Regions from separate parts of the Homo sapiens genome. Here regions 1, 2, 4, 5 and 6 are each linked to region 3. Evidence: promoter capture Hi-C in 16 types of primary human blood cells and fetal thymus (Javierre and others, 2016). All regions are on one chromosome and are shown on one strand. Each heading gives the region's core, a stretch centred on a gene start or on the middle of the fragment in contact. The rest is flanking DNA. Distances are from core to core; before and after follow the strand shown. Region 1 has its middle 6.3 kb from the start of LINC02522. Region 2 overlaps TMEM170B (transmembrane protein 170B). Region 3 holds the start of ELOVL2-AS1 (ELOVL2 antisense RNA 1). Region 4 has its middle 17 kb from the start of GCNT2. Region 5 overlaps LINC02522 (long intergenic non-protein coding RNA 2522). Region 6 overlaps TMEM170B (transmembrane protein 170B).

Region 1 (3,509 bases), core at 130-2,629, 560 kb before region 3:
CGGATTGAGGTCAGGAGTTCGAGACCAGCCTCACCAACATGGTGAAACCCTATCTCTACTAAAAATACAAAAGTTAGGCATGGTGCCTCCTACCTGTAATCCCAGCTGCTAGCAGAGGCTGAGGCAGGAGAATCACTTGAACCCAGCAAGCAGAGGTTGCAGTGAGTTGAGATCATACGCAGTCCAACTTGGGAACCAAGACCAAAAACTCCAAAAAAAAAAAAAACCAACACAACCACACACACACACAGAAAAGACACACTCCAGGGACAGGGACTCAGACTTTCCAAATAGTCTTCACAAACTTATGCTTTTCCAGGGCTGCTGGTGTGTCCAGAATTGGTCAGTGCCCGGTTTCACCGACTTCAAAAATGAAACCATGGGCCCTTAACAGTGAGTATTAAATTTCTTATAAGCGGCATGTCTGGAGCTTGCTCCTTCTAATGTTCCAATGTGTTCAGTTTTTTTCCTTTTGGTGGATTATGTAGTCTTCCTTGCTCAGAAGTGAGGCTACTAACTTTCACAGTGAATGTTATAGCTCGTAAAACTGGCACGTCTGGAGTTACGTCTCAGTGAATTTGTGGGCTCACTGGCTTCAGAAGTGAAGCCACAGACCTTCATAATGAGTGCTACAATTCACAAAAGCAGCACAGACCTAAAGACCAAGCAGAAACAAAACGAGGGAGGAGGAGGAGAAAAAGCTTCCACACAGCAAAAGTAGGTTACAGCTTATTACTACTGGAAGCTCAAGGCAGCCTGCTTTTATTCTCTCATCTGGCCCCACTCACATCCTGCTGATTGGTCCATTTTACAGAGAGCTGATTGGTCTGTTTTGACAGGGTGCTGATTGGTGCGTTTACAATCCCTGAGCTAGACACAAAAATTCTCCATGTCCCCGCTAGATTACCTAGATACAGAGTGTTGACTGATGTATTTACAAATCGTGAGCTAGTCACAGAGTGCCGATTGGTGTATTCACAATCCCTTAGCTAGACATAAAGATTCTCCAAGTCCCCAACAGATTAACTAGATACAGAGTGCCGATTGGTGCATTCACAAACCCTGAGCTAGACACAGGGTGCTGATTGGTGTGTTTACAAACCTTGAGCTAGAGACAGTGCTGATTGGTGTATTTACAATCCCTTAGCTAGACATAAAGGTACTCCATAGTCCCACACCAGACTCAGGACCCAAGCTGGCTTCACCCAGTGGATCCTGCACTAGGGCCGCAAGCGGAGCTGCCTGCTGGTCCCGCGCTGTGCGCCTGCACTTCTGCACTCCTCAGCCCTTGGGCAGTCGTATGGGATCTGGGCGCTCTGGAGCACGGAGTGGTGCTCATCGGGGAGGCTTGGGCTGTTGGGGAGGCTCAGGCTCGGCGGGCTGCAAGTCCGGAGCCCTGCCCCGCGGGGAGGCAGCTAAGGCCCGGCGAGAAATACGAGCACAGCAGCTCCTGGTCTAGGTGCTAAGCCCCTCACTGCCCCGGACTTGCGAGCCGGCGGCCGCTCCGAGTGCGGAGCCCGCTGAGCCCACAACCCGCCCGGAACTCGCGCTGGCCCGCAAGCGCTGCACGCAGCCCCGGTTCCCGCCCGGCTTGTCTCTCCACACCTCCCCGCAAGTTGAGGGAGCCGGCTCCGGCCTTGGCTAGCCCAGTAAGGGGCTCCCACGGTGCAGTGGTGGGCTGAAGTGCTTCTCAAGCGCTGCCAGAGTGGGCGCCCAGGCCCAGGAGGCGCTCAGAGCGAGCCAGGGCTGAGGGCTGTCAGCACGCTGTCACCTCTCACTGGTACAGCCCCCTTATCTCCAGGCTTTTTCCCTTCTCACCCGTTTCGCGTGCCTTTTAAGATGCGGGATTTTTCTTCTACCTGACTTCAGACTTGGTGACCTCTTTGTTAATCCAAGTCCTTGATCTCAGGAAACCCCCAAGATCTCCATTCACTCTACTCATCCCAGGCTTAGGTACCTGACCCCTCAGTGCCAGCTGTGTGACTGTTTCCTGAATCCTACTTCCAGTCTGTGGTCTCATGTTGCTTCTACCGTGCTTTAAAGGACTGCCAATGTGTGAAGCTTTTTGTATTTGATGTGTTAATGAGGTTGTGAGTTTTATTCTTTGCTCAGCCAAATGAATTTGTAAAGAGAATTATGTATTAGAGAATTTGTAAAGAGGATTATACACATATATATATGAAATACACATATATATAATCCATGTATATATACATATGATCCATAAATAATCTGTATATATATGTTTAATGAGTAACAACTATCTATTGATGAAAATGGTGGAAGTTATGTAAGATGACTTGTAAGGAGCATCCCTTCCCTGGGAGAAATCAGCACTGAATGTCTCCTGGGAGGTAGCACATTTTGATGCTGCTGCTGATGATGATGATGATGGAGAAGAGGAAGATAAGCATCTCCATTGCTTTTTATGTGCTAGGTACATAGTCTCATTTGCTCTCACGTTAATCCAGGAAACTAGGCACTGTTTTGGTCCCTGTATTAGCTAGCTTGGGCTGCCATAACAAAATACCACAGACTGCATGGCTTAAACAACAGAAATTTATTTTCTCATAGTCTGGAGCTGGAAGTCCAAGATCAAGTTACCAGCAGGGTTAGTTCCTGGTGAAGGCTCTCTTCCTAGCCTGCAGACGGCCATCTTCTCCCTGTGTCCCCACATGACCTTTCCTCTGTGACATGCTCCTGGTGTCTCTTCCTCTTCTTAGAAAAACACCAGTCCTATTGGATTAGGGCCATGCCCTTATAACCTCATTTTACCTTAATTACCTCTTTACAGACCCTATCTCCAAGTACAGTAACAGTCTGAGTTACTGGGAGTTGGGACTTCAACAGATGAAATTTGGGAGGACACAGTTCAGTCCGTAACAGTCCATCTCTTAGGAATGATGAAACTAGACTGAGATGAGATATACACCTTGCCTAAGATGATAGTAAAGACCAAAGAACAGGAATTTGAAGCCAAATTTGCTCTCATGGCCTCTTAGCCACCAGACCACCCTGCCACAGGCATCAGAACAGAGCAGCTCCACAAAGTGGGCAGGAATAGCACACGCTACCTGCCACTGCCATTCTGACTGGGGAAGAAGGAGTGCTTCCTGGCTTCTCTGGACCTGAGCTCTCACAGTCCAGCCTTACGCTCTTGAGATAGGAGCTCTGAGCTTTTGAAATAGTCCTTGCAAACCCATGCTTTGCTAGTGCAGGAAAGATGCTGTTTGCTGATGTCTTAATGAAACACAACCTAAGCATTGATTACTGTTTACGTGCGGACATGTGTCAGGAAGAAAAGGCATTAAAACTCTTGTGGGGGAAGCCTGTCCAAGGTGGAAATGAGCCCAAGATTCCCAGTATTAATCTGATGCCCCAGGTGTTTGTCAACTTTAGTTTATCTGGAGAGTGGAACATTTGTGTTGGTGTTTCTATCCAAATCTTTCCAGGCCCAAAGGCTCAACATTTTTTTTTTGTGGAGACTTCCCCAATCTCTGGGGTTCTCA
Region 2 (3,545 bases), core at 328-2,827, 540 kb after region 3:
CACAGAATGTTGTGGGAAAGGTCTTTAAAGAACCTCTAATGAAGAAAATGTGGCTGCCACATTGATGTACCTAGGCTGCCACTCATACAGCAAATAATTCTATTTTGTAAACACTTCGTGTGGATCCACTATGTAAAGTGCTCTACCAAGTATTTTCTCTAGTAAGAAGTACAAGAATTACCAAGATGGAATTCTTTACCTTGAGTACACCAAGAGCTAGCAAGATGATTTTTAAATCCTAAAAAGTTTGGGACAACATTTTGCTTCCTGATTTTAGTTGAGAGTTAGCCTGTTATCCCTCCAAATTCTCATTTTCCTGGTTCATCCACTAAATAGAATTTCCATAACTGAGATATCATGGCTGTGACATAGTGAAGAGAATACGAGACTCCAAGCCAGCAACACAGATTGAATTAAGACTCTGTCACTTGTCAACTTTTTGACCTTGAGCAAATCACTTAACTTCTCTGAGCCTCAGTTCATACTCCGTAAAATGTGACTAATACCTCATGTAGTTATTGTGAGGATTACGTGAGATTGTTTATGAATGGCAAAGCAGTATGTATTTCACAGTAAATGATCAACTGATAGTCTCTAGAATTTTTTTAAATTACATTTTGCAATTGCATTACCAATTGAATATGTTGTTTTGTAAAATTCATCAATTTTGTTTCATTTCTATATTTTCCTTACATATGCTTTAGGAAAGAAACTAAAAACGTTTTCTTATAATCTTGCTTCATCTCCTTTTCACTTTTTCTTTTTAAAATCAGCAGATCTTTAAGAACCTTTTGTGAATTGGTGGTGGTGGAAATGGCCAGTGCAAGCAGGATTAAATTAGGAGTTCTGTTGACCACTGGTTAAAATAGGAAAAGGGTAGAGAGGTAGTCAGCCTTGACTCCCTTATCTATTCCCACTTACTTCCCTTGGATTCATTCAGCCATGTTGATTTATTGACTTTCTGCTATTTGCTAATTATTCTTCTTGAAAAGTAAGAGCGATATATAACCCTTCAGTCTTCTATATGTCTGTTTCTTCTGCCGGCCCTGGGCCCTTGGCTCTACAGTGTAGTGCCAATTCTGTAGAAAAATAGAACGATATTCAGTGTCTACCAAGTTCTTTCTTCCACAGGCCAAGGGTGCTTAAGCCCTAGCTGTTATTTTGTTTCTTTTATTTATTTATTTTTTGAGACGGAGTTTCGCTCTTGTTGCCCAGGCTGCAGTGCAATGGCATGATCTCAGCTCACCGCAACCTCTGCCTCCCAGGTTCAAGCGATTCTCCTTCCTCAGCCTCCCGAGTAGCTGGGATTACAGGCGTGCACCACCATGCCTGGCCAGTTTTGTATTTTTAGTAGAGACAGATTTCTCTATGTTGGTCAGGCTGGTCTCAAACTCCCGACCTCAAGGGATCCACCCACCTTGGCCTCCCAAAGTGCTGGGATTACAGGTGTAAGCTGCCGTGCCCAGCCTATTTTTTTTTAACTTCAAATACTATTATTTTAAATTTATGTTCATTATGTAATTCAGGGAGTAACGATGCCTGGAGCAATTTCTGAAATATTCTCAAACCACTTCACTCTTGACACTACAGATTTTTCTCTCAGTCTCAATCAGAATCTCTGCAGTCATTATTTGTTTTTAAGATGTGAGGGACGAGGAAAATTACTGAAGAAATTCTAGCAGATTTCGATTGCAGAGAAATTTGGTAACACTTTTTGGGTAACTGGGTAAATTACTATTTCTTTTAATAATCGGGTGAAACTCTGAATTGTTAAAACGGACCAATAATCAAATGGTTTTATAATCTTTCTTAACTTCCCGTCCTTGTTATAACATCTTGGAAGAAGACTCTTCAGGATAAAAAGGATATTATTTGATTAAAAATTATAGCATTTGGAGAGGTAACACACAAAAACAAAAACATATTTGACAAAGCGCCCTACATCCTGTGTTTTGTTAGGACTAGAAACTATACTGGATGAGTATGTATACTGCATGTTTACACATGCTGTGTTTCTTTATATGTGAGGCTTCACTGACCACCGTGCATTTTGAAATTGTATTGCATTTTGTGTGTGTGTGTGGTGACAGGTTTGCTCTTCTCACTTAAGGAGCTCTGGTCTGTGTAGGCAGTACAGTGTTGTTAGGGAGGTTGCTGAATTATCTAAAAATGTATCCATGAATTTGGGGGAAATAATGCTTAATATCTGAAGTATTTTCAGTAAATGTGGAGATATATCAGATAATACTTTTAAATTAGTGGAAACACATTTCTGAGTGAACTGAGCTATGAACTATAATCATCTCTTCCCCTGAGTTTAGGGAAGTTGTTTTCACATTCTTTACATTTATTGCACATATACTGAACTTACATAATAACTCTTCCCTGATTTTGAGAACGAATTTAGCAATTTCCTAAAAATCTTCCTCCTCTTTCCATACAGATGTCGTATGTTATAGTTTAAACATATGTACAATTTGTTGATAGAATCCAAGGAGCTGGTTTAGGAAAGAATACTCTTAACCCCTACAGTTATGCAGCTCTAATCTTACTGAAAAGTAAATACTTTAGGCAAGTCAGGAGAGCATGAACCTCATACATACATTTTTACGATTATGTACTGCACCCACATGTATCTACTCTTGGTAGTAACATGACTCCACCCTTTTTGGGAATGTATTTAGGTGGATAACTGAAACGGAAAAGCAGTTTGACACAAATACACAGAAAGAGGAATTGCGGTGCATAATCAATCGTCTGAGTCCCATAACTGTAACACTTTTTCTCTTATAAATTGGTAGTTCCTAAAAATCACCACTTTAAAAATTTTATTCTGTCTTGCTGAATTAAGCAGAAATCACTTTTTTTAGAGCCTTGTTTAAAGGAACGTTAACTCGAGAGTACTACTGATGATGACGCTTCTCTTGTTTTTAAAGTATTTACACATCATTGTTAAGTATTTTTGGAATGGAACATTTTAAAGTTTTCTCCATAGAAAGCAACATAGTGGCACTTGTTGAGTAAATGATCATAAAAATGACTTGCTTTTAATAGCAGATGAGTTGATAGTTTAACTGTTGACACTTTCTTAATGTTTTTGATGTTGGATGCATTTACAATGGAAGAATTTTTTTGAAAGATTTGGCCCTCTCACCAATACACACATTCAGACTTGAGCTGCACGCATTTAGATGAACAAATAGGAAATTCACGGTATTTTTTGTTTTAGCCATCCAAAATTCATAGGATTCTACCAAAAATATTAGCCCCTGACTCTAGTTATTCTGAGATGAGGGAATCAACTTTATCTTGAAAGTTAACTAGCTAAAATGTCTTTATTTAAATAGCAAAAATATAGTTTACCTGACAAGTATTAAAAGTCTCACTTTCAAATTGTGTTAACTCTCAGACCACTGATGAATCTTTTGGTAAATCACAGGCAGATTTTAAAAGCTAAATGAAGCCTTAGTGCCTTGAAAGTTAAGATACTTGTGCAAAATGGATTTAGCAAGATTCAGGATTGGCACCAGTGAGTTGGCTAGATA
Region 3 (3,559 bases), core at 602-3,101:
TTCATATTGGACATGTATTGAAAAGGATGTCTCTCTGAACTGACCCACTAAGTTATTTATAAATTCAACCCCCTAACTTTCCTACTCCCTGCCCATTTTTTTTTTAAAGTAATACGATTTCAGCCGGGCATGGTGGCTCATGCCTTGTAATTCCAGCACTTTGGGAAGCCGAGGTGGGTGTTGATCACTTGAGGTCAGGAGTTAGAGACCAAACTGGACAACATGGTGAAACTCTGTCTCTACCAAAAATACACAGATTGGCCTGGTGTGGTGACGTGCGCCTGTAATCCCAGCTACTCAGGAGGCTGAGGCACGAGAATCACTTGAGCCCAGGAGGTGGAGGTTGCAGTGAGCCAAGATTGCATCACTGCATGCCAGCCTGGGTGACAGAGTGAGACCCTGCCACAAAAAAAGAAAGAAGAAAAAAGTAATACAATTTGGATTTGGGTATTAAAAAAAAATTCCTCTGAAGACCCACAGTTTCTGAGAAATACTTATCTAAACAGGAAGCATCACACTTGGGCAGGATAAAGCTTTCAAGAGCTTGCCCTTGATTTTAGCTCTTTTAGGTTAACATTCCCATGACTTTCCTATTCAGCTAAAGAGATTTCCTTGGACTTATTCCCTTACTCACTACAATTCCTACCTATACTTTAGGACAAAGCTTCAGAGCCCAAAAGGAGAGCCAGTTGGTCCTAAAAATGCTTTGTCCACTCTGATGCCAAGGTGCAAAGAGCATGAAGCGACAGACAAGGCATAAGAGATAGCCGCCTAGACTCGTCATTGAAGGCTGCCAAAATCGGGTCCCTCCTGTCGGGAGTATCTCCCTCCTCCCAAACTTCACTTGAGACTCTCATCATTACAAATGTCAACTGCATAATCTTTGCAGTTACTCCCCACCTGTGCATTAACATAAAGCAGCTTGCTTTATTGGGTTAATTCAAAAGAGTTATCAAGTACCTACTGTGCGCCAGGCACTGCTGTAGGTACTAGAAATCTAGCAAGCAATGAACGAAATGACAAAAATCTGTGTCTTCCTGAAACCTATATTCTGGTAGAGGAGACGTTCAAGAAACAAGCTAAAGAAACAAAATATGCAGTACGCTAACTAATACATGCTCAAGAGAAGACAAATGAAGCAGGCAAGGGGAATATACACTGTGGTGGGCGGGGTAGGAAAGGTTGGAATTTTAAGATTAAGTGGTCACACATAATCAGGCAGATGGTACGTGCCTAAAAGGGTAGCCAGAGCAAAATCAGATGGAGTGGGGAAGAGAAAGGAAGTGCGCTTATTTTAACAAGTCCTGAAGTGGAGAGAAAACCCTACGGGAAGGGGGTGAGGCAAACACTGAATATGGACCACTGAAGACAAACGCGGATTTCACATTTTGCCTAAAGACCAGTCCTTTGAGGATGGCACAACAGATGTTCTCCCTTTGTAACCAAAGAACCAGGCTCTGCTACTAAAACTGTCAGGCAGTTCATCGGACACGGGTGAACACACACACACACACACACACACACACAGCTTACTGTCAGGCAGTTCATCGGACACGGGTGAACACACACACACACACACACAGCTTACTGCCGAGGAGAAAGAAGCGTTACTAATCCAGAGTGGAGGACTGGCCTGGGAAATCGGGCAGAGAGAGGAGTTGTCGGAAAGAACACACCAGAAGCCCCTCCGAGCCCAGACACTGATAGAAACCCAGCCGCTTCCCAAGCCAATCTGCAAACCCAGGAGGCACCCACGAGTGCACAGACACACCCCCGGGGTGCAGGCGCGGTGAAGGGAGGAGAGGGGCAAGAGCTTGACCGTTAGGGCCCGAACCCCAGAACTCCCGAGGCAGGGTGTGTGCCGCGCGCGGGAAACGCCGTTCTCCGCTCCAGGCGTCGGCGGGCGGTGGCGAGAGCAGGTTCGGGGGTCCGGAGGGTCGGAGGGTGGGCTGCGCGCGGGAATGGCCGCCGCGAAGGAGGGGCGGCTTCCTCGGGCATCCCGGGCGCCCGGCCCCGTGCATGCAACAGGGGACTGGGCGCGAGCGGGCGCCTCGAGGTGCCGGGGCGGGACCGGGGAGAGGGGACCGAGACAAAGTTCCCGAGACCCGCGGGCCTCGGGCCGACCCGCGCGCCCCCGGCCCAAACGCTCAGCTCCCGCTCCCCAGGCCCGCGCGGACCCGGCCCCTCCGAGGGTAGCGGGTTCCAGCGGCGAACCCGCAGCGCCCGCGCCGGCGCCCGCTCGGCCCTTTCCCGCCCGGTGCGTGGGTCCAGGAGAGAAAGAAAGCGCGGCGGTGTCGGTGGCGGCGCGCGGCCCCACTCACCATGATCCGCAGCGGCTGTGGCGCGGCGACCCGGGCGGGCGGCGATGCGCTGTCCAGGGTAGCCGGGTCCCTCTGCCCGGCGCTATCTCGGCGCCCGCGCCGGTTACCCCCACCCACACCCACGCCCGGCGCGCGCACACCCGCCCGCGCCTCCCCGCCCCCTCGGGCTCGCGCCGCCGCCGCGCGGCGCTCCGAGCCTCGGGGCCGTTTCGTCCCCGCCCCCTCTCCCACAGGGGCCTCGCCGGCCGCCGCGCCAGGAGGGCGCGCGGGGGAGGGGCGCAGGGCAAGTGAGGCGGCGCCCCCCGCCCCTGCGGCCTCGCGCGCCCCCTCCTGGGCGACCGACCTCGCCCTCGCGTCCGCGGCGTCCCCTGCCGGCCGGGCGGCGATTTGCAGGTCCAGCCGGCGCCGGTTTCGCGCGGCGGCTCAACGTCCACGGAGCCCCAGGAATACCCACCCGCTGCCCAGATCGGCAGCCGCTGCTGCGGGGAGAAGCAGTATCGTGCAGGGCGGGCACGCTGGTCTTGCTTACAGTTGGGCTTCGGTGGGTTTGAAGCACACATTAGGGGGAAATGGCTCTGTTCCTGCAGGTTTGCGCAGTCTGGGTTTCTTAGGTTTAGGGGGTTGGGTGGGTTTCTCTGGGGGTGCGGTGGGAAGCGGATCAGTTCGGATAACGGCCCTGAGCAAGAGTCTCTGTCCCGCTCCCGGCCTGACGCGGGGCTTCCAGCGGACACGACCAACGGTGAGCGCACCCTCTTCACTGTGAACAGAACGGTGGCCTCCTAGAGCCTGCGCTTCTAGTTACTTTAGTTGTGTGTGTGGCCCAAGTGAAAGACGTCGAAAAAATTGGACTTGCCTGAGTATTACATGAACTTTCTTCCATTTCTCCCTCAAGCATGGGAAGTTGGCGGGCGTGGTGGTTCCCTCCTGTAATCCCAGCACTTTGGGAGGCTGAGGCAGGCGAATCACTTGAGGTCAGGAGTTCGGGACCAGCCTGGGCAACATGGCGAAACCCCGCCTCTTAAATAAAAAATACAAAAATTAGCTGGGTGTGGTGGCCTGCGCCTGTGATCCCAGCCACTCGGGAGGCTGAGGTGAAGGATGGCTTGAGCCCTGGAGGTGGAGGCTGCAGTGAGCCGAGATCACGCCACTGCACTCCAGCCTGGGCGACAGAATGAGACCCTGTCTCAAAAAAAAAAAAAAAAAAAAAAAATGTTTACCACATGTGAGGCTCATGTGGT
Region 4 (3,227 bases), core at 528-3,027, 540 kb before region 3:
CGGGTCATTCTTTCCTTGGCATTGGGTCATTTCTTTGCATATTTCCTGATCGGTCGTTAGCTAAAGACTTGAGGGAGACCCTCTTGCATGTGTCTGGAGTTCTCTCTCTGGACTATCTCCTTCACAGTAACTCCACCCTAGGAACCTCAGCAGTCTTGACCTCCTCAAACTCTCAAATCTGTCTGCTCCATTCAAGGAGATGGCCAGGCTCCCCCTGGACTCCTCTGCCTGCCCTGTGGCAGAATAACTCTGTACTCAGTAAGCTGGGGCAATCGCGGGGCTCATATCATTAGTTTCCCCTCTTTCGGAGTTCACTGTCCCGTGCTGTGTGATGTCCTATGTTTGCAAACTGTTGGCTATAGTAACGATGAAATATGCGTCCTGATTACTGAATTGCTATCTAATTAAGCTTTCATTTTGGTTTAACAACTTACTTGACTTATTCCCGATAATGTATACGCTAGAATGTTCCTTGATTCTGAACTTAAACACCAGTGGCATGAAAGAAGAAGGCTACTGAGAATTGTAAACCTTCATCCTTGGCCCTGCTCTTGCTGATTCAGTATCCTGCAGAGCTGAGCTTCCTTCGGCTTTTTCACTCCTGTGTCAGGCTCTCCTACCGTGCTCTCTTCTGAGGTTCACATTCACCATTATTGGATTCTTCTTGTTGCTGTTATTGTATCTTTATTTTCTAATTGTTATAAAAATTTGTCCCTGAACCCCAATTTGGTGCAACTTATTGTTCCCAGGTTTGTTTGTTTTTCTCCCTGGCCTGAACCTCATCCACTTCTTTGCATTTCTTTTGGCATATGTGTCTTTTAATGGCATTTTAATCTCTTTTTAAAACCTCAATATTTCAAAGGCATTTGCTTATTATGACAAATTCAAATGCTATAGGAATGTATAAATTTACAAATTAAACTTTTCTCCAAGTCAAAGTGGGAACTCTGGGTCTGGTCAGAACACCTGATTTTTTTAAACATGCCTTCATTCTATTAACTCAATTATCAAGTTAGCTTCCTCATTATAAATAATATGCAAGGCCAGACACGGTGGCTCACGCCTGTAAATCCCAGCACTTTGGGAGGCCAAAGCAGGTGGATCACTTGGGCTCAGGAGTTCAAGACTAGCCTGGACAACATGGCAAAACCCCATCTCTACAAAAAATACAAAAAATTAGCCAGGCATGGTGGTACGTGCCTGTAGTCCCAGCTACTTAAGGAGCTGAAGCAGGAGTATCTCTTGAGCCCAGGAGGTCAAGGCTGCAGTGAGCTGTGTTCACACGACTGTATTCCAGCCTGGGTAGCAAAGCAAGACCCTGTCTGAAAAGAAAAAAAAAAGATATACATATATTTTCAGACATTATATAATTCAATTAGACATTACCCTACCAAAGAGGACTGTATTGTCAAACAAGCTCACATAGGGCCACTCGTGGTGGCTCACACCTGTCATCCCAGCACTTCAACTTTGGGAGGCTGAGGCAGGAGGATTGCTTGAGCCCGGAAGGTTGAGGCTTCACTGAGCCATATTCATGCCACTGCACTCCAGCTTGGCTGACAAAGCAAGACCCCGTCTCAAAATAAAAAAGAAACTTAGCTAAAAAAATGAGTTTGGGCAACACTGGAAGAAATAAAGCCAAGCAAGTTTCTTTACCGCTTCGCAGATCTTCTTCTGAGCTAGTTTAAATTGTCAACTTTCAAGGTGGGGGAGGGATTAGCCCTTTTCAAATAGCCTTTTTGTATGAGTAAATCCATAATAAAAGTTGATCAATAACCAGTAGACATTTAAACTTCAAATATAAGGGAATAAAACAAACACTGATTTTAGACACTGTTTGAATTAATCAAGCCCGGGCTCCACTTTACAAACATCTGTCTCTGAAGGTTATTAAATTTGGCGTTGGCCTGTGCACTTCAGTGGCCAGGAGGTCAGAAGGCAAGGGAAGGCCAGAAATGACTGCTTCCCCCCACCGAACCCTCTCCTGGATCTGGAAAGAATATGTAGAAAAAAGGATAGTGTTTTAATTTATTCTTGATTAATCTCTTAATTTCATTAAAGTGAATTAAGTTTTTCAGAACACAGAAAAGAACTTCATAAAAATACCAGATATATTTTTTTCTTTTCATGAACATAAACTGCCCAGAAGTCTCTGGGTATTTCTTTCAGGAATTTCAGATCTCCTGCCATAGTTTGAAACATGGTACTGTCTCAGGATGTGGTATTTGGTCCACTGTGATACTCCTAGAGCAGATGCAGTTTCCGCTTTGACATTTCTGGATTTCAGAAATTAGCTCCACACATTGAGACTGAACAAAATCTTTTCCCTGCTTATAAAAGCAGTGCAAGCTCTGGAATAGAGTAAAAGTAATAAAAATAATCCATAATGCTACAACTCAGTGAGAACCACTGTTAACATTCTTGTGTATATATCCCAGTCTTTTTATTCTGTGTATATGTGAATGTATGTGTGTGCATCTGTGTAGGAAGAAATGTGTCTGGGCTGGGCGTGGTGGCTCACACCTGTAATCCCAACACGTTGGGAGGCCTAGGTGGTCAGATCACCTGAGGTCAGGAGTTCAAGACCACCCTGGCCAACATGGTGAAACCCCATCTCTACTAAAAATACAAAAGTTAGCTGGGCGCAGTGGCAGGCACCTGTAGTCCCAGCTACTAGGGAGGCTGAGGCAGGAGAATGGCTTGAACCCGGGAGGCAGAGATTGCAGTGAGCTGAGATCATGCCACTGCACTCCAGCCTTAGCGACAGAGTGAGACCCTGTTTCAAAAAAAAAAAAAAAGTATCTGTTTCTCACCCCTGTATTCCAAATACTCAGCACCTATCTACCTCAGTCCTTGGTATAGGAAAGGCATTTCTTAAGTAGAACATGAATAAATATTAGGGGCCAGGCATGGTGGCCCACACCTGTAATCCCCGCACTTTGGGAGGCCAAAGTGAAAGGATTGCTTGAGCCCAGGTGTTCAAAACCAGCCTGAAAAAGATGGTGAGACTCTCCCCCCCGAAAAAAAGGATCACAATGGGTCCGTTCTTAACCACTTTCAAGTATTCCATTGGAGCTGCCTGATCTCCACCTAGCGATGGTCTAGTACAGTGAGAACTCCCAGATGTGCCCCTTCTGGTGAGAGGCAAGCTTCCTGACAACGCCATGCTGAGTGTTTGATTGGCCGGCCAGACCTGTTCATAAAGCATTTCACAAACCGTCCTTTCT
Region 5 (3,607 bases), core at 412-2,911, 570 kb before region 3:
AAGTCTCCTGCCAAGAGCACTGATTGGGAAGGATAGACACATCTGGGTAAACTTAGATAAAGCTAAGAATTTTGAATCCCTGATTCACTGTGTATTTCTTGCCAGGAGAAGCAACGCTTCTTCATATGTGTAAGGAAATTAGCTTTCTCTTGCTTGAAAACCTTATAATGACTTTGAGGCAGTTATCTTGCAAGAGGATGCCTATTCTCCCCAATATCCGCTCCTTCACTCTTCATTGCTTTCAGACTTTTAATGGAGTCAGAGCTCAGCCTATTTCAGAGAGAAAAGTACAACACATGTCCCAGGAAGAGATAATTCATTTTTCAAAAAATTGCAAGCTTTTGCTAACATATCTTGGCAGGAACCTAAAAAATATATGTTGGGATGGATTCTAAAGGTTATAGAACAGATTAACATTGCATTTGGTCAGTTTATTAATGGGGATGCGCTTACTGGGGAATCTGGATTTCATGTGTCCACTCAGGCATCTAGAATTGGCTGTAACAATTTGATGGATTCAGTGGGCAAAACTTGGATTCAACGGTTGCCTATATCCAATAAAGTTAAGTTGTCAGACTTTCCTGGTGTGATGTCAAGGGAAGAATCTAAAAGCAAAAGGGAAAAGGAATGCTGCAGTGGACAGAAATGTTAACCAGGAGCCACCCCCGCCCCAAACTCACACTCTGAGATGGCCCAGAGGATGTTCTCTTCACTCTGTGTTTTGATATGAACCATGAAGTGTCCCAGATATTACCCCACTTGCACAATTATGTATTAGCATACGTGAATATGACAGAAAACACATGGCACCTGGGTCAGGGAAAACTATATTGATAATCTTTCCTTGAAGAGGATCTTGATGTCCGCCTCTACTAGGTCCACCACTGTGCTGCTCAAATCTACTTCATCTACATCTGGGGAGCAGCTCCTCCAGCCTTCCAGTGGGCCTCTCTTCCTGGAGGAAATGTAAAAGTAGATGGCTTAGAAGCACAAGCTACAACACCTGCTGCTGCAGCTGGTCTCAGGGCAATGACTGATACTTTTCATTTTCCTCCCCTAATCCCCAGTCTAGATTCCCCCTCACCTCTGCAGCTTACCTCCTGGCTTATCCAGTGGTGTGACCCTGGTCCTCATTCCCATGGGGTCTGAACTCTGGCCACCATGCCCTTCCCAAAAGTGTTCCTGCACTTGTCTGTCATCACAACTGGCCACGGGAGTACCATGGGTTGCAAAAGTGGATCAGTGGTGCCACACGTCTTCCCTACCCTCATAGTGGAACCACAGCCTTTCTTCTCCTGCTGATCAGGGTCAATTAGCCCTGCCAAGACTGTGACTCTTCTCTTTTATTGCTGGTCCCAATTATAAGAAGCCCAAAATCCCCAGGCAGCAGGCATAGCTGCAATGTAGTGGAGACTTTTGCTGTGTCCCCTGATAAAATTATGCCCCCTTTTGACCAGGATTTCTAGCACTGCAGAAAGAGAGGCTGCAGGGACAGGAAGCAAGACACTTCTGCTTCATCCCTTGGTTCATGACCAATATATTCTTCCTACTGGGGAGCCATCTCCTTATCAATGCTGTGTGATTCAATGTGTATGTGCCATCCTGGAGATGATGTCTCATTCTCATGGAGTGTTGCCTCTAAGCTGGTACTTTAACGGGGCCATCTACAAGTTATTCCAATGCCTTATAAGTCTGTAGCTTCTGGATGATGTGACAGGTGATACAGTCAGTTGACATCATGGTCATAGGCTTGGCTGGTCTGACTCAATCCTGGTGAATCAACATTCCTTCAACCTTCAAATAGTGGTACCAGAGGAGGCTCCATGGCAGGAAAGGTCAACCTATGCCTGCAACACATGCCTATTCCTCTTAGAACAAATCTCTGTCTTCCCAGAATAGAAACAGCCCAGTGTAGTCAACTTGCCACAAAGCCATCAGTTGGTCTTCTTGTGGAATGGTGTCATATCAACAGATCTGCATCGGGCTCCCTTGCTGAAAGTTTTGACATTCCACAGCAGCAGTAGCTAAATCACCCTTGGAAGTTGTTTTTCTGCTCACTCATGTGGCTGCTGTCAGTTGGGAGCTAAGCTGGGATACCTCGGTTCTGCTCCCCATGGCTGTTTTCCCCACATGGTGTCTTGTCCTCCAGGGCCTCCTTCTACAGCAGGATAGCCTTGCAGAATCGGGGCAACAGGTTTGGAAAGAACAAGCCCAATGTGCAAGCACCGATTAAGCCACACTTGCATCATGCTCTGGTGTCCTATTAGCCAAAGCAAGTCACATGAATGAGAATGAGCTTTTCCTCAAAGCATAAGAAACTAGGCCAAAGCAAACAACAAAAGGATCTTAGACAGACAGACACACACACACACACACACACACACACACACACACACACACAGAACTTCTCTTTCTCTCCTTTTATTTATTTACTTGACCACATCATCTGCTAAAACGTTAAAAGCAAATAAGATGCATTTTCCATTTTGTGATTTTAGAAAAATTTACATTATTACAATAGTAGTACATTCTTGCCTGTGAGTGTAGGTGATTGATTGTATGCAATGCAGTTCTGCTCAGAGCATGAAAGAGGCTGCAGGGAATTACAAAAGCAATTTCATTTACAATAGTATCAAAAAGAATAAAATACTTGGAAATAAACTTAACCAAGAAGACAAAAGACTGTACGCTAAAACTTTAAAACATTGCTGAAAGCACTTAAAGAAGACACAAATAAATGGAATGACATCTGTGCTCATGATTGGAAGACTTAGTTTTGTTAAAATGTCAACACTACCCAAAACAATCTTAATGTAATCATTTAGCAAATGATTATGACTATGATTTCATATTTGTTGGGGGCATAAGAAAATCATATGCATTATGATTACATTAAGCAAACAATGTAATCCCTATTAAAAAATCCAATTAAAAATTTATCCTAAAATTTATGTGGACTCTCAAGGGACCCTGGATAGCCAAAATAAGCTTGAGAAAGAAGGACAAAGCTGGAGGCATCACACTTCCTGATTTCAAAATATATTACAAGACGAGAATCGCTTGCCAGGAAGCGCAGGTTGCAGTGAGCTGAGCCTAGATTGTGCCACTGCACTCCAGCCTGGGCAACAGAGCAAGACTGTCTCAAAAAAAATTTTATGTATGTATAAATTTTATGTATACATAAAAATTTTTATACATACATAAAATTTTTTAGACAGTCATATATGGTAACAATAATCAAAACAGTGTGGTACTGGCATAAAAACAGACACATAGACCAATGGAATAGAAGAGAAAGCCCAGAAGTAAACCCTTGCCTATATGATTGAATGACTTTTTACATGGGTGTTGAGACCATTCAATGGAGAAAGGGGTCTTTTCAACAAATAATATTGGGAAAACATGAATGTCCACATGCAGAAGAAGAAAGTGGGACCCTTACCTTACACCGTTTGTAACAATTAACATAAAATAGATCAAAGACCTAAATGTAAGGCCTAAACTATAAAATTTCTAGAAGAAAACATAGAGGGAAAGCTTTACAATGACATTGGATTTGACAATGATTTCTTGGTTGTGTTACCAAGAGCACAAGCCACAAAAATAA
Region 6 (3,478 bases), core at 760-3,259, 520 kb after region 3:
AAACAACACTACTTTTTTATAATGTCAGATAATTTCCTGTTCACAGTGTTAAATATAGTCAATAAATAAATTATTTCCTCTAATTGTATTATAAGAACTTTTTTAAATGGGCGTGAGGTACAAGGCGGATTGTTGACTTTTGTATTGAAGAGCCTGTGGTTGTTGCAGAGCCTTTCCTTGTCTCAGGGTAAGTTGAGAAAAGAGCTCCCTTGATGAAAATATACACCCCCATATTCTACTCCCTTATATTCTCACTTTATTAGGTTCACTTAGGAAAACTGTATCTTTCAATATGCAAATATCTGCTGAGCAAGTTGGGGTTTTTAAATTTTAATGTATTTATTATAAATTGAAGCCATTTGTTTGAGAGTAATGATCTGAAATACTGTTTCCCTGAATGCTGGAAGAGAAAAGCCTCTAAAAGGCAAGTTTTGTCTATATTTCCGTAATCACTAGCATCTATCTTGTATGCCATTGAGAAGCATGCATGGTAGTTTAACACACACTGTAAAATATATCAGATGTATCTTCTTTGAAATAATTTCAAATTGCATGAGTCCATTCTACGTGCCAGTTCTTAAGAATTTGGCAGGGTAAAGCTGATTTTAAAAAAATCTTTCTATTCTTTCGTTTTTTAAGATTAAACTTTTATTTTGAGATTATAAGAATCACAGTTGTAAGAACCAATACATAGAGAGCTTATGTACCCTTTATCCAGTTTACCCAATAGGAACATCTCAGAAATCCACAGTATAATATATCAACCAGGATATTAACATTGATGCAATCCACCAACCTTATCCAGATTTTGCTAGTATTTCTTCTACACTTGTACTCTTCTCTATTGTGTATTTAGTTCTATACAATTGTATCACTTACATGTATATCCACCACTATAGTCAAAGAAGAAATCCATTACCACAAAGATCACTCATGTTGCTTTTTAATAACCATACCCTCCTTCCTTTTTAAGGAGTTTTTGTTTCGTTTTAAAATTCTTAGTCATTTATGGTCTTGACCTAAGTATTTTTCAAATTTATATCATGCTTTTAAATTTTTTACTTTTTAAAAAAAATTGGTAAAAACATAACTGATGAAGCATACTCGCTGTTGACTGGGGGCAGTGGCTCACGCCTGTAATCCTAGCACTTTGAGAGGCCAAGGTGGGCAGATCACCTGAGGTCGGGAGTTTGAGACAGCCTGACCAACACAGAGAAACCCCATCTCTACTAAAAATACAAAAATTAGCCAGGCATGGTGACGGGCACCTGTAATCCCAGCTACTTGGGAGGCTGAGGCAGGAGAATCGCTTGAACCTGGGAGGTGGAGGTTGCAGTGAGCTGAGGTTACTCCACACCAGGCCCCCCTCCCCGCCAAGAAAAGGCACTCACTGTTTTCTCCTCCCTCACACAGATCACTTCTGTGACAAGTGATGTGTGGTTTTTTTCCCACACCAAGCAGTTCTCTAGGATACCAACTGGGTGTCCTACAGTTCAGTTCAGTTCTGACATTTACCTGGTGTTAGCATCCAGTCCCGCAGGTTAAAGGCACAGTCCCAGAAACGACTCCCATTTAGACACCAGTAGAAAGTCTGCGCTTCCCATATTTGTGACTGACTGTAAGTCGGGGGTTCCCATTGACCCCTCCTCAGGTTTCATCATTTGCTAGAACAGCTCATAGAACGCAAGGAAACACTTCACTGGTTATGGTTACTGGTTGATTTTAAAGGTTACAACTTGAGGCCAGGTGTGGTGGTTCTCGCCTGTAATCCCAGCACTTTGGGAAGTTGAGGCAGGAGAATTACTTGAGGCCAGGGGTTCTAGACCAGTCTGGGCAGCACAGGCAGATCCTGTCTCTACAAAAAATATTTTTTAAAAACTAGCCAGGCGTGGTGGCCCACATGTGTAGTTGTAGCTACTGGGAAGACTGAGGCAGGAGGATCACTTGATCCCAGGAGATGGAGGCTGCAGTGAGCTGTGGTCACGCCACTGCACTCCAGCCTGGGTGATGGAGCAAGACTCTGCCTTAAAAAAAAACAACAAAATCATATGGTATTCATTTGTGATGATTTATTTCACTTAGCATAATGTCCACAAGGTTCATTCCTGTTGTAGCATGTGATAAGATTTCCTTCCTTCCCTTTTAAAACTGAGTAATTTTTCCGTTGTATGTGTACCATGTTTTATTTATCCATTCAGGGACTCTTGAGTTGCTATCACCTCTTGGCTATTGTGAATAATACTGATAAACATGGGTGTGCCAATATCTCTTTGAGATTCTGCTTTTAGTTCTTTTGGGTATATACCCAGAAAGTGGAATTGTTGGATCATATGGTAGTTTTGTTTTTAACTTCTTGAGGAGCCTCCATACTATTTTCCACAGCAGCTGCATCATTTTACATTCCTACCAACAGTAAATATCTATGTTTAATGATATTTGGATACATAGGTTTTGATTCATCCATTTTAATTCTTTAATGACTATTTTATTGACTTTTCTTTTACAATTGATAGTGACTACCTAGCCCAAATCACAGATGAGATACTTTGTATTATAGAATGTTTGCATATCAAGGATGATCCTCAAGGTGACATCTAAATATTTTAGAGTCAGCTCTTTCAGGTATAAGTGAGAGAATCCTTATCTGAATAGTTTAAGTAAAAAGAGGGATTTTATTAAATGGGAACTGGGATGTGACATTGAATCTAAGGATGGTAATGAGTCAGGCCTTAGAAATAACTCATTAAGGGACTTGATTCTCTCTTGTCTTTGATGGATCTTTTTCCTTCTTGTACTGTGGCTTTCATCATGCGACGATGAAGTAGCTTCACAAATCTTGAGCCTTTCTGCTTCAGCTACCCAAAGAGCAAGGACACTCAGTTGGTCCCAATCCAGAAGTCCCAGGGGAAGGGAACGATTGGCCCAGCTTGGATCGATTGCCTTTCTTTCCACCCTCACTACAGTATGGTCAGGGAGAAGGAGTCAGTGCAAGGACATCTGTGGGAACTATATGGAGTGACTGGGAGGCAGTCGGGTGGCCAGAAGGAAAGGGAATGAATGTGAGACAGAGAATGAAGAGTGTGCTTGTCCACTGTCTCTTAAGCTGAGATGTCAGTGAACAGTCGATTGAGGTCACAGTGGGGAGATAATATTGGAGCTTGAAAAGTTCTGGATAAGGAACACTAAGATGACTAGAGGCAAATAATTTATCTGACTGATTTTTTAGTATACCAAGTTCAGGGCCACAAGGAGAAAATGACTGAAATTCTTAAAGATAAAAGGTAAAAATCATTGACTGATTTCTGGAATGATTTGAATTAGAATTACAAGGTAGTTAAAAACATTCTTAACACTGCTATTTAGGGTAGAAAATAAAAAATTCTATTTCAAACAGTAATTTTATAATTCTAAGAAGTTTACAAATATATCAGGGGTTTAATATAAAATTGATGGATGATAGCTATGTAATAGGGGCATT

The links. The method cuts DNA at HindIII sites, captures the fragments that hold promoters and counts their contacts. A CHiCAGO score of 5 or more calls a contact.
Region 1: a fragment that was not itself captured here is called in contact with the fragment with the promoter of ELOVL2-AS1 in region 3 in 2 of 17 cell types (erythroblasts and naive B cells); the score reaches 8.5 in erythroblasts.
Region 2: a fragment that was not itself captured here is called in contact with the fragment with the promoter of ELOVL2-AS1 in region 3 in 1 of 17 cell types (fetal thymus); the score reaches 5.4 in fetal thymus.
Region 4: a contact is called between a fragment that was not itself captured here and the fragment with the promoter of ELOVL2-AS1 in region 3, in 4 of 17 cell types (naive B cells, erythroblasts, megakaryocytes and 1 more). The highest score is 6.4, in naive B cells.
Region 5: a fragment that was not itself captured here is called in contact with the fragment with the promoter of ELOVL2-AS1 in region 3 in 7 of 17 cell types (naive B cells, M0 macrophages, erythroblasts and 4 more); the score reaches 9.0 in naive B cells.
Region 6: a contact is called between a fragment that was not itself captured here and the fragment with the promoter of ELOVL2-AS1 in region 3, in 1 of 17 cell types (endothelial precursors). The highest score is 6.3, in endothelial precursors.

The regions. Positions count from the first base shown.
Region 1 is chr6:10,486,520-10,490,028 of GRCh38, forward strand. No RefSeq gene overlaps it. Among named protein-coding and RNA genes, the nearest start is that of LINC02522, 6.3 kb to the left of the region's middle. The HindIII fragment of the contact is 1,360 bases long and covers 700-2,059 here.
Region 2 is chr6:11,578,845-11,582,389 of GRCh38, forward strand. TMEM170B (transmembrane protein 170B) reads left to right here. Exons shown (of 3, transcript NM_001100829.3): 3 at 1-3,545. Among named protein-coding and RNA genes, the nearest start is that of TMEM170B, 43 kb to the left of the region's middle. The HindIII fragment of the contact is 4,660 bases long and covers 1-3,545 here.
Region 3 is chr6:11,041,907-11,045,465 of GRCh38, forward strand. It overlaps ELOVL2-AS1 (ELOVL2 antisense RNA 1), which reads left to right and starts at 1,852. Exons shown (of 5, transcript NR_038964.1): 1 at 1,852-1,919. ELOVL2 (ELOVL fatty acid elongase 2) reads right to left here and starts at 2,399. Exons shown (of 8, transcript NM_017770.4): 1 at 2,322-2,399. The coding sequence starts at 2,324. RefSeq lists a silencer at 2,295-2,494 and enhancers at 2,929-3,429, 3,430-3,559. The HindIII fragment of the contact is 4,245 bases long and covers 663-3,559 here.
Region 4 is chr6:10,502,493-10,505,719 of GRCh38, forward strand. No RefSeq gene overlaps it. Among named protein-coding and RNA genes, the nearest start is that of GCNT2, 17 kb to the right of the region's middle. The HindIII fragment of the contact is 2,740 bases long and covers 408-3,147 here.
Region 5 is chr6:10,469,776-10,473,382 of GRCh38, forward strand. LINC02522 (long intergenic non-protein coding RNA 2522) reads right to left here. Exons shown (of 4, transcript NR_183333.1): 2 at 1,098-2,260; 3 at 454-955. Among named protein-coding and RNA genes, the nearest start is that of LINC02522, 10 kb to the right of the region's middle. The HindIII fragment of the contact is 2,650 bases long and covers 337-2,986 here.
Region 6 is chr6:11,561,943-11,565,420 of GRCh38, forward strand. The region is part of intron 1 of TMEM170B (transmembrane protein 170B); the gene reads left to right. Among named protein-coding and RNA genes, the nearest start is that of TMEM170B, 26 kb to the left of the region's middle. The HindIII fragment of the contact is 5,292 bases long and covers 1-3,478 here.